2 separate regions of the Homo sapiens genome follow, and region 2 is linked to region 1. Evidence: promoter capture Hi-C in 16 types of primary human blood cells and fetal thymus (Javierre and others, 2016). All regions are on one chromosome and are shown on one strand. Each heading gives the region's core, a stretch centred on a gene start or on the middle of the fragment in contact. The rest is flanking DNA. Distances are from core to core; before and after follow the strand shown.

Region 1 (4,514 bases), core at 891-3,390:
AATTCAGAATATTTAATATTCTTTGTTAAAAAATAAAAGGACCTTGTATAACCAACATTCAAGTTCAAACCAAACAGGAGAAATACCCTGACGGTCTATCTTGTTCTGAATTAATTACTTCAAAGACAACCTTTATAAAAGCACACTACCATTATACCATATTTCAAAACACAAACCTAACCTTTAACCCCAAAGTCTCAAGAGATTCAAATAGTTTCACATCATCTCAGATACCTTCGGCAAAAGGTATGCTGTCATATACTTTTTGTAATCCAGGCCTCAGTTTTGTATTTGTAAAATGAACTAAGTACCCTGAAAGTACTTTCCAGTATGGAGGGGGAGGGTGGATACCAAAAGTATTCACCCTATACAGTAGAATATTCTGAGTCAGAGGAGTAAGAGATGATAAGAGTATAACAGCAGACTAGTTAGTATAACAAGATTTGCAAAGTATTGGGAAAGCAAAGAAATCTTTCCTGCTTGGTTTAGTCAATCATTCTTAGCACCCAATGGCAAAGACAGAAACAGTCACCATGCTTAACACTCTTGAAACTCCACCCTCCACAGTAAAGCTTTAATAGCAATGGCTTCTTCCTCAGTGGTAATGATCTTTGTTCGGCACACTACTGATGGCTACCTTCCCAATTCAGGAGCAGAGAAAGAGCATCAGAGTGAGAGTGCATTCACTGAACAAAAAAAGCATCTACTGTACTCTCTTCTCATTGAAAAATGTACCCTTTATCTTCGTTGATTAAAAAAAAAAACCGGATTCCTTCCGGACTCAACCAATAAGCAATTCTTTCTAACCAACCCTGACCCTCCAATATGTTCTGTCCAAGGGCACTACATGTTTCCGTATCTTATAATAAATATTTAATGTAACCAAAAGAGCACACAACTTCCTCCCACCCCCAACCTTTTGGGAAAGGTATGTGGCTAACTAGGGCTCTTCCCTTCCTGTTGGATCCTCCCAGCGTTGCAGCAGGAAGCAACCAGTTCATAGAGATAAAGCAAGCTAGTATTTGTGCAGCGCACAACCTTTCCTGCTCAGGAACCAGGCCTTCAGGTCTGGCAAGGATAACAGCCACCACCCATCCGCAACCTCATCTCGCGAACCGAGTAAAGAGTTATCCCGGGTTGGGTGCCACTGAGTAGGGAGGGCAAGAAAAGAAAAGGCTAGGTGGGAAGTAATGTCAGCCTGCCGGGTCACTGCGACAAGTGCGCGAGTGGGTGATGGGCGATCCCTCTTACCCTCCCTCCCACCACCCAGGTCGCAACGGAGACAAGGGAGCTCTAAACACGATTTGGGGAGGGAAGGTAGAGAGAGTTGCCAAATGGGGAGTGGGAGAGGGAGCGGTCAGAGAAGGTTAAGGACCGCGAGAACCGCGGGGCGGAGGGTGGGGGCGGAGGCCCTTGGCCCGCTCAGATTTTACGGGGTCCTGGACCCGGGATGGGAGAAGCTTAGAGGGGCGGCCGTCCAAGTGGAGGGGAGATACAGAAGAGACGCTCGCTCGAGGGGGGAAAGAGGGCAGATAAGAAAAAGACCTGTAATGGGAGTCTGCACCGAAGGCAAGGCCAAGAGGGAAGCGAAGAACCCGTCAGAGGGGCTTCGGGAGAGGACGCGAGCTGGGAAGGGTGTACGCCGAGGGGGAGGGGGCGCTACACCCGAAAAGAGAGATGGTGGGAGGAGCGGCGGGGCCGTAGAACCCGGGGAAAGGAATTCGACGATGTGGGAGAAGGCAGTCCGCCAGGGGAAGGACACGCAGGGAGGGGCTCTGAGGCCAGCGAAGGCCTATGGAGAGGTCGCTCAGAGAGCGGCATGTGATGGGGACCCCTGTCTGAGCGGGGGAGAAGAGGCTGAGCTGGGTAGGAGACGGAACCGCACAAAAAGGAAGGGCTGAGGGAGGCCTATATCAGTGCAGGGGTGGCCGGCACGAGGGTCCACCGGGAGTGGCCCGGGTCCCCGAACGAGGACTGTGTAGAGTGCGAGAGCCCATGGCCTCACCTTTAAAGAGGTAGTCGTACTCGTCGTCGCGGGTGCCCATTGCGCGGCCGAGGAGCGAAAGGGCGGGAGCAGCAGTGGTATCTGTGGGACCAGGGGGCGTCGCTGCAGGGGTAACCCGAGCGCCGAGCTTCAACTGCCGGACTGGGTGAAGAGCCCCTCCCTGCCGCTGCGCCATTTCCGGCAGGCCCCAGCCTTTAAGGGGAAGTACTTCCGGGGGCGGCGCCCCGCCCCTGAGCCCAACAAGGGCGGTGTGCGCGAGAGTCGAGATGCGTGGGGCTTCAAGCTTTAGTCGCTAAAGGAGGCTCAAAGGGGAAACTGAGTCCTGGAACTCCTAGCTACCATAGTCTTAGTGGCCGCTTGCTCATTTCTCGAGCTACCGTGCCGGAAGCGGCTCGCTGGAACCAGGCGGGACCGCCTGTGAGTGGTGGGTTTGTGGATGGGGGCGGGGTTCTCTGAGGATTAGACAGCCGAAGGCAGCTACACATGCGTGGCGGTTCCATGGTGTAATGGTTAGCACTCTGGACTCTGAATCCAGCGATCCGAGTTCAAATCTCGGTGGAACCTGCATTGGTTTTTGTTTTTTTAATCTTGACAACATCTTTAATTCACTTTTTTGGTCACTAAGTAATTGAACAACTATGACACATCTTAAGATGGAGATGTAAAATTTAATCCTTGCCTATGAAGACCTCACAAATTTCCCACTGCATTTCAGGTGCTATCTGCTACCTGGCGGGGGGTTGTCTTAATGAGCTTCTTCACTGCCTTTTTTTTAACCCTGGGCTTTCAAGCCTTGATTCAAAAGCTTCAGTGAAACTTGAAAATTCCTTTTGCTGGAATTTTCTACCTCCAGCTTCATGCACGGGTAGGCGCTTGTCACTCACTCCTCTCCGGAAATCTCGCAATCTATCTCATTTTCATTTAGAGTACTTCGCCCACCCTCCTCATCAAGATTCATCAAGAACTTGAGTCCTATTTGTAGGCCTCTAATCTAAGTCCGTTTACATAAGTATTTCATTTAACATGCCAAGCAAAGGATGGTAATTTCCATTTTAGCGGAAGTTTGGATACTAAGACTCAAGTGATTTGCCAGATATCATGTCGCAGGGCCTCCCTGTATTTGAAGAGAATTTTGTCATTCCAGAAAAGCCTTTATCCAATTATTGTCACACCTCCTACCTCCTATATGCAAACTCTCGATTTAGACTTGTGGGCAAGTATGCCTATAACAAGCAGAATAATGCCCCCTGCCAATGATGTCCACTTCCCAATTCCTGGAGACTGAATAGGTTAGGTTACATGGCAAAGGGGAATTGAGGTTACAGATGAAATTAAGGTTGCTTATCAGCTGACATTAAATTAGGGATATTATCCTGGATTAGTTGGGTGGGCCCAGTGTTGTCATAAGGTCCTTAAAAGTAGAAAATGGGCTGGGCACGGTGGCTCAGGCCTTAATTCCAGCACTTTGGGAGGCCAAGGTGGGTGGATCACCTGAGGTCAAGAGTTCAAGACCAGCCTGGCCAACAAGGTGAAACCCTGTCGCTACTAAAATACAAAAAATTAGTCTGGCGTGGTGGTGGGTGCCTGTAGTCCCAGCTACTCTGGAGGCTTAGGCATGAGAATTGCTGGAACCCGGGAAGCGGAGGTTGCAGTGAGCTGATACCACGCCACTGCACTCCAGCCTGGGCAACAGAGAGAGACTCGTTCTCAAAAAAAAAAAAAAAAAAGTGGAAAATGGAGGCAGAAGAGGTCAGAGTGATGTGACTTGAAAAGACCTCAATCTGCCCTTGCTGGCTTTGAAGATGGAGGAAAGGGCCCAGGAGCCTAGGAATCTGGAGGCTTCTAGAAGCTGGGAAAGGCATGGAAACAGATTCTTCCATAAGGCCCCCAGAAGGAACACAGCCCTGCTGACAACTTGATTTTAGCCCAATGAGACACTTGTCAGACCTGTGACCTACAGAACTTTAAGCAATAAATTTGTGTTGTTTTATGTCACCAAGTTTGTGGTAATTTGTTATAGAAGCAATAGAAAACAAATACAGTGCCAATTTCCGTGCTTTCTCTACTGCTATAAAGTGATAGTAAGTTTATCTAAGGTCCTGTAATCCCAGCTACTCAGGAGGCTGAGGCAGGAGAATTGCTTGAACCAAGGAGATGGAGGTTGCAGAGAGCCGAGATTGCGCCACTGCACTCCAGCCTGGTGACAGAGTAAGACTCCTCAAAAAAAAAAAAAAGAACACTAATGTTTAATTTAGTCTCAAGCATGACTAATAAAAATGGTGTGTTGGTTAATACTGAGTGTCAGCTTGATTGAATTGAAGGATCCAAAGTATTGATCCTGGTTGTGTCTGTGAGGGTGTTCCCAAAGCAGAAACAGTTGAGTCAATGGGCTGGGAAAGGCAGACCCACCCTTAATCCGGGTGGGCACCATCTAATCAGCTGCCAGCGAATATAAAGCAGGCAGAAAAATATGAAAAGGCTAAACTGGCTTAGCCTCCCAGCCTACATC
Region 2 (4,514 bases), core at 978-3,477, 560 kb after region 1:
GCTCACTACAACCTCTGACTCCCTGGTTCAAGCAATTCTCCTGCCTCAGCTTCCCAAGTAGCTGGGACTACAGGCATATGCCACCACACCCAGCTAATTTTTGTATTTTCAGTAGAGATGGGGTTTTACCATGTTGGCCAGGCTGGTGTCAATCTCCTGACCTCATGATTCACCCGCCTCGGCTTCCTAAAGTTCTGGGATTACAGGCATGAGCCACCACGCCTGGGCTTTTTTTGTTTTTTGAAACAGAGTATTGCTCTTGTTGCCCAGGTTGTAGTGCAATGGCGCGATCTCTGCTCACCGCAACCTCCACCTCCCAGGTTCAAGCGATTCTCCTGCCTCAGCCTCCCGAATAGCTGGGATTACAGGCATGCACCACCATACCAAGCTAATTTTGTATTTTTAGTAGAGATGGGGTTTCTCCATGTTGGTCAGGCTGGTCTCGAACTCCTGACCTCAGGTGATCCGCCCACCTTGGCCTCCTAAAGCGCTGGGATTACAGGTGTGAGCCACTGTGCCCGGCCTTATTTATTTATTTACTTACTTACTTATTTTTGAGACAGAGCCTCACTCTGTTACCCAGGTTGGTGTGCAGTGGTGTGATCTCAGCTCACTGCAACCTCTGCATCCTGGGTTCGAGCGATTGTCCTGCCTCCGCCTCCCAAATAGTTTGGACTACAGGCGCCCACCACCACACCCAGCTAATTTTTGTATTTTTAGTAGAGATGGGGTTTTACCATGTTGGTCAAGCTGGTCTCGAACTACTTTTTTCTTTTTCTTTTTGAGAGAGAGTCTCCCTCTGTCACTCAGGCTAGAGTAGAGTGGCAGAATCTTGGCTCACTGCAACTTCCACCTCCCAGGTTCAAGCAATTCTCCCACCTCAGCCTCCTGAGTAGCTGGGATTACAGGCACACACCATCATGCCCAGCTAATTTTTGTATTTTAGTAGAGACAGGGTTTCACCATGTTAGCTAGGCTGGTCTCAAACTCCTGACCACAAGCAATCCATGTGCCTTGGCCTCCCAAAGTATTGGGATTATAGGCATGAGCCATTGCACCTGGCCAATTTTACCATTTTTTAAAATTATTCTTTTAGAGACAGGGTCTCACTATTTCACCTAGGCTGGTCTCGAACTCCCAGCCTCAAGTGATCCTCCCAATTTGGTCCCCTAAGTAGCTGGGTTTACAGCCACCACTCCTGGCTCAGTTTCACATGTGAAAGAAAAGTCCGGGTGGGGCACGATGGCTCACGCCTGTAATGCCAGCACTTTGGGAGGCTGAGTCAGTGGGATCGCTTGAATCCAGGAGTTTGAGACTAACCTGGGCAACATGGTGAGACTGTCTCTACAAAACAATTCAAATAGCTGGGCGTGGTGGTGCATGCCCGTAGTCCCAGCTACTCAGGAAGCTGAAGTAGGAGGATCACTTGAGCCTGATAGGTAGAAGCTGCAGTCAGCCATGATTATACCACTATACTCCAGCCTGGTTGATAGAGGGAGACCCTGTCTCAAGAAAAAAAAGGAAAAGTCCTACATCCAAAACTGAATTGAGGCCGTGCGCAGTGGCTCACGCCTGTAATCCCAACACTTTGGGAGGCTGAAGTGGGCAGATCACTTGAGGTCAGGAGTTCGAGACCAGCCTGGCCAACATGGTGAAACCCCAGCTCTACTTAAATACAAAAATTAGTTGGTCATGATGGGGTGCACCTGTAATCCCAGCTACTCCAGAGGCTGAGGCACGAGAATCACTTGAACCTGGGAGGCGGAGGTTGTGTGAGCCAAGATTGCATCATTGCACTGCAGCCTGGATGACAGAGCAAGACTCCTTCTCAAAAATAAATAAATAAATAAAAATAATTATAAATATTAGAAAGGAAAAATTGAAAAAAATCCCCAGATAATGAGATTATATAGGTAGAAAACTGAAAATAATCTACACATAGATTAAAGTTAATAAATCAAGTAAGGTTGCCAGATGTAAGATCCCATACAGGTTCACTGAATTTCTATAAAACCGCAGTGTACAGTTAGGAGATATTATTTTAGAAATTAATAAAAAGTGTGAGATTTTTAGTAGAAAAATTATAACACTTTACTGAAAGATAATGAAGACCTGGGCACGGTGGCTCACGCCTGTAATCCCAGCATTTTGGGAGCCCGAGACAGGCAAATCACGAGGTCAGGAGTTCGATACCATCCTGGCCAACATGGTGAAACCGCGTTTCTACTAAAAATACAAAAATTAGCTAGGCGTGGTGGCAGGCACCTGTAATCCCAGCTACTTGGGAGGTTGAGGCAGGAGAATCGCTTGAACCTGGGAGGCAGAGGTTGCAGTGAACCGAGATCGCACCACTGCACTCCAGCCTGGGCGACAGAGTGAGACTGTCTCAAAAAAATAAAGAATAAAAAAAAATGAAGACCTAAACATATGGAGAGACAAATCATGTCCATTAATAAGATAAAGATTCAATTCTCCCTAATCAATCTATAGATTTAATTCAGACGCAATAGGGATTTTCATGGAAATTGACAAGACAATTCTAAACATTTTTGGAAGAAGAAAGTTTAGCCAAGTTACTATTAAAAAGAAAACAAAGTAGAGAGATGACACCCACCAGATTTTAAGTCTTATTATAAACTCATAGTAATTAGGATGTGCAATATTGGCTCAAGTTTAGACAAACAGACCCATGGACACATGTCACTGCATATCCCTAGGGAAAGGAGGTACCAAGTCAATACACAGTGCTGGACAATTGCCAATCATTTCCAGGGGAAAAATAACACCAGATTCACACTTCACACTATACATAAAAATTCAATTCCAGAGGAATCAAGGACTTAATATGAAAGACATCACTTAAAAAGATACAGAATTTATTTAATAATTTGAGGTGGTGAGTTGTTTATTAAACAAAACACACAAAAGTACAAATGAGAATGAAGAAAAAAAACAAATCAATCTGACATTAAAACCAGTCACCAAGAGACTCTATAAGAGCAAAAAGAGAAGCTGTAAACTGGGAGAAGGTAATTGCACCATATAACCAACAAAGAATTACTATTTAAAGTCTCTGAAGTCTAGAAGCTGTGCAAAAAACTACTATACCCACTAAGAAAAAGATTCGCCATCTAAGAAAAAAATGGGCAAAAGGCACAAACAGGCATTTTACAGGAGAAACTATGAATGGCCAAAAAATCTTTGAAAAGATGTTCAACCTCATTAGTAATTAGGGAGATGTACATTAAAATTACTATAATGCTGGAAGATTAGACATTTGTAAAGGAAAAAAAAAAAAAAAAAGCCAGGCACAATGGCACACACCTGCAATCCCAGCATTTTGGGAGGTCGAGGTGGGAGGATAACTTGAGCTCAGAAGATCCAGAGCAGCTCACCCTGGGCAACATGGAGAAATCCTGTCTCTACAAAAAGCATAAAAACAAAATAAAAATTTTTAAAAATCAGCCAGTGTGGTGGTGCACGCCTGCAGTCCCAGCTGCTTGGGAGACTGAGGTGGGATCACTTGGATCAGGAAGTTGAGGCTGCAGTGAGAGGATATCATGCCGCTGCACTCCAGCCTGTGTGATAAAGCCAGACCCTGTCTCAAAAACTAAAGTAACATTTAAAAACCACTAAAAGTTACAATTTCATAACTACCAGATGGACAAAGATTAACTTCTGAGCATTTCTTTTTTTTTACTTTTTTTTTTTTTTTTTGAGATGGAGCTTCACTCTTGTTGCCCGGGCTGGAGTGCAGTGGCACGATCTCAGCTCATTGCAACCTCTGCCTCCCAGGTTCAAGCGATTCTTCTGCCTCAGCCTCCCGAGTAGCTGGGATTATAGGCACCACCACGCCCGGCTAATTTTTTATATTTTTAGTAAAGACGGGGTTTTGCCATCTTGGGCAGGCTGGTCTCGAACTCCTGACCTCAGGTGATCCGCCTGCCTTGGCCTCCTAAAGTGCTGGGATTACAGGGGTGAGCCATCACGCCCGGCAACTTCTGAGCATTTCAAGGCCAGTAAGGGTGAGAAGCAATGGGAATATAATAGGCCATTTGTGAAAATGCAAATAAGTACATAATTTGGGAAAAAATTATTATGCAGGTACCTACCTGCCCTAAGACCCAGCCAGCCATTCCATTCCACACTTTAAGGAAATATAACCTTGCACAGGTTCAAGGAGTTCCAATGGCCAAAATCTGGCAAAACCCCAAAACCTACAGGAAGGGAGAACGGATCTACACACTGTGCTCTGTTCAAACGTTTTACACCTAGCAGAGGTGCACAGGGCAATTATTAGTCATTGTCCATGTGTGCCGATTGAGCGCTTGAAATGCAGCTAGTCCTAATTGAGATGCGCTAAATGCAAAATATACACAGGATTCAGAAGACTAAGAAAACAATGTACAACGTGGGTTTCACCACGTTGGCCCAGGCTGGTCTCGAACTCCTGACCTCAAGTGATCCGCTCACCTTGGTTTACCCAATGCAGTGGGATTACCGGCATAAGCCAC

Evidence for each region. Contacts are between HindIII fragments. The CHiCAGO score rates a contact against its expected background, and 5 or more counts as called.
Region 2: a contact is called between a fragment that was not itself captured here and the fragment with the promoter of RAB11A in region 1, in 1 of 17 cell types (fetal thymus). The highest score is 8.3, in fetal thymus.

The regions. Positions count from the first base shown.
Region 1 is chr15:65,867,117-65,871,630 of GRCh38, reverse strand. It overlaps RAB11A (RAB11A, member RAS oncogene family), which reads right to left and starts at 2,140. Exons shown (of 5, transcript NM_004663.5): 1 at 2,006-2,140. The coding sequence starts at 2,045. TRQ-CTG1-4 (tRNA-Gln (anticodon CTG) 1-4) reads left to right here and starts at 2,498; the gene lies at 2,498-2,569. RefSeq lists an enhancer at 2,267-2,326. The HindIII fragment of the contact is 828 bases long and covers 1,463-2,290 here.
Region 2 is chr15:65,305,016-65,309,529 of GRCh38, reverse strand. No RefSeq gene overlaps it. Among named protein-coding and RNA genes, the nearest start is that of RNU5B-1, 2.6 kb to the right of the region's middle. The HindIII fragment of the contact is 4,735 bases long and covers 1-4,514 here.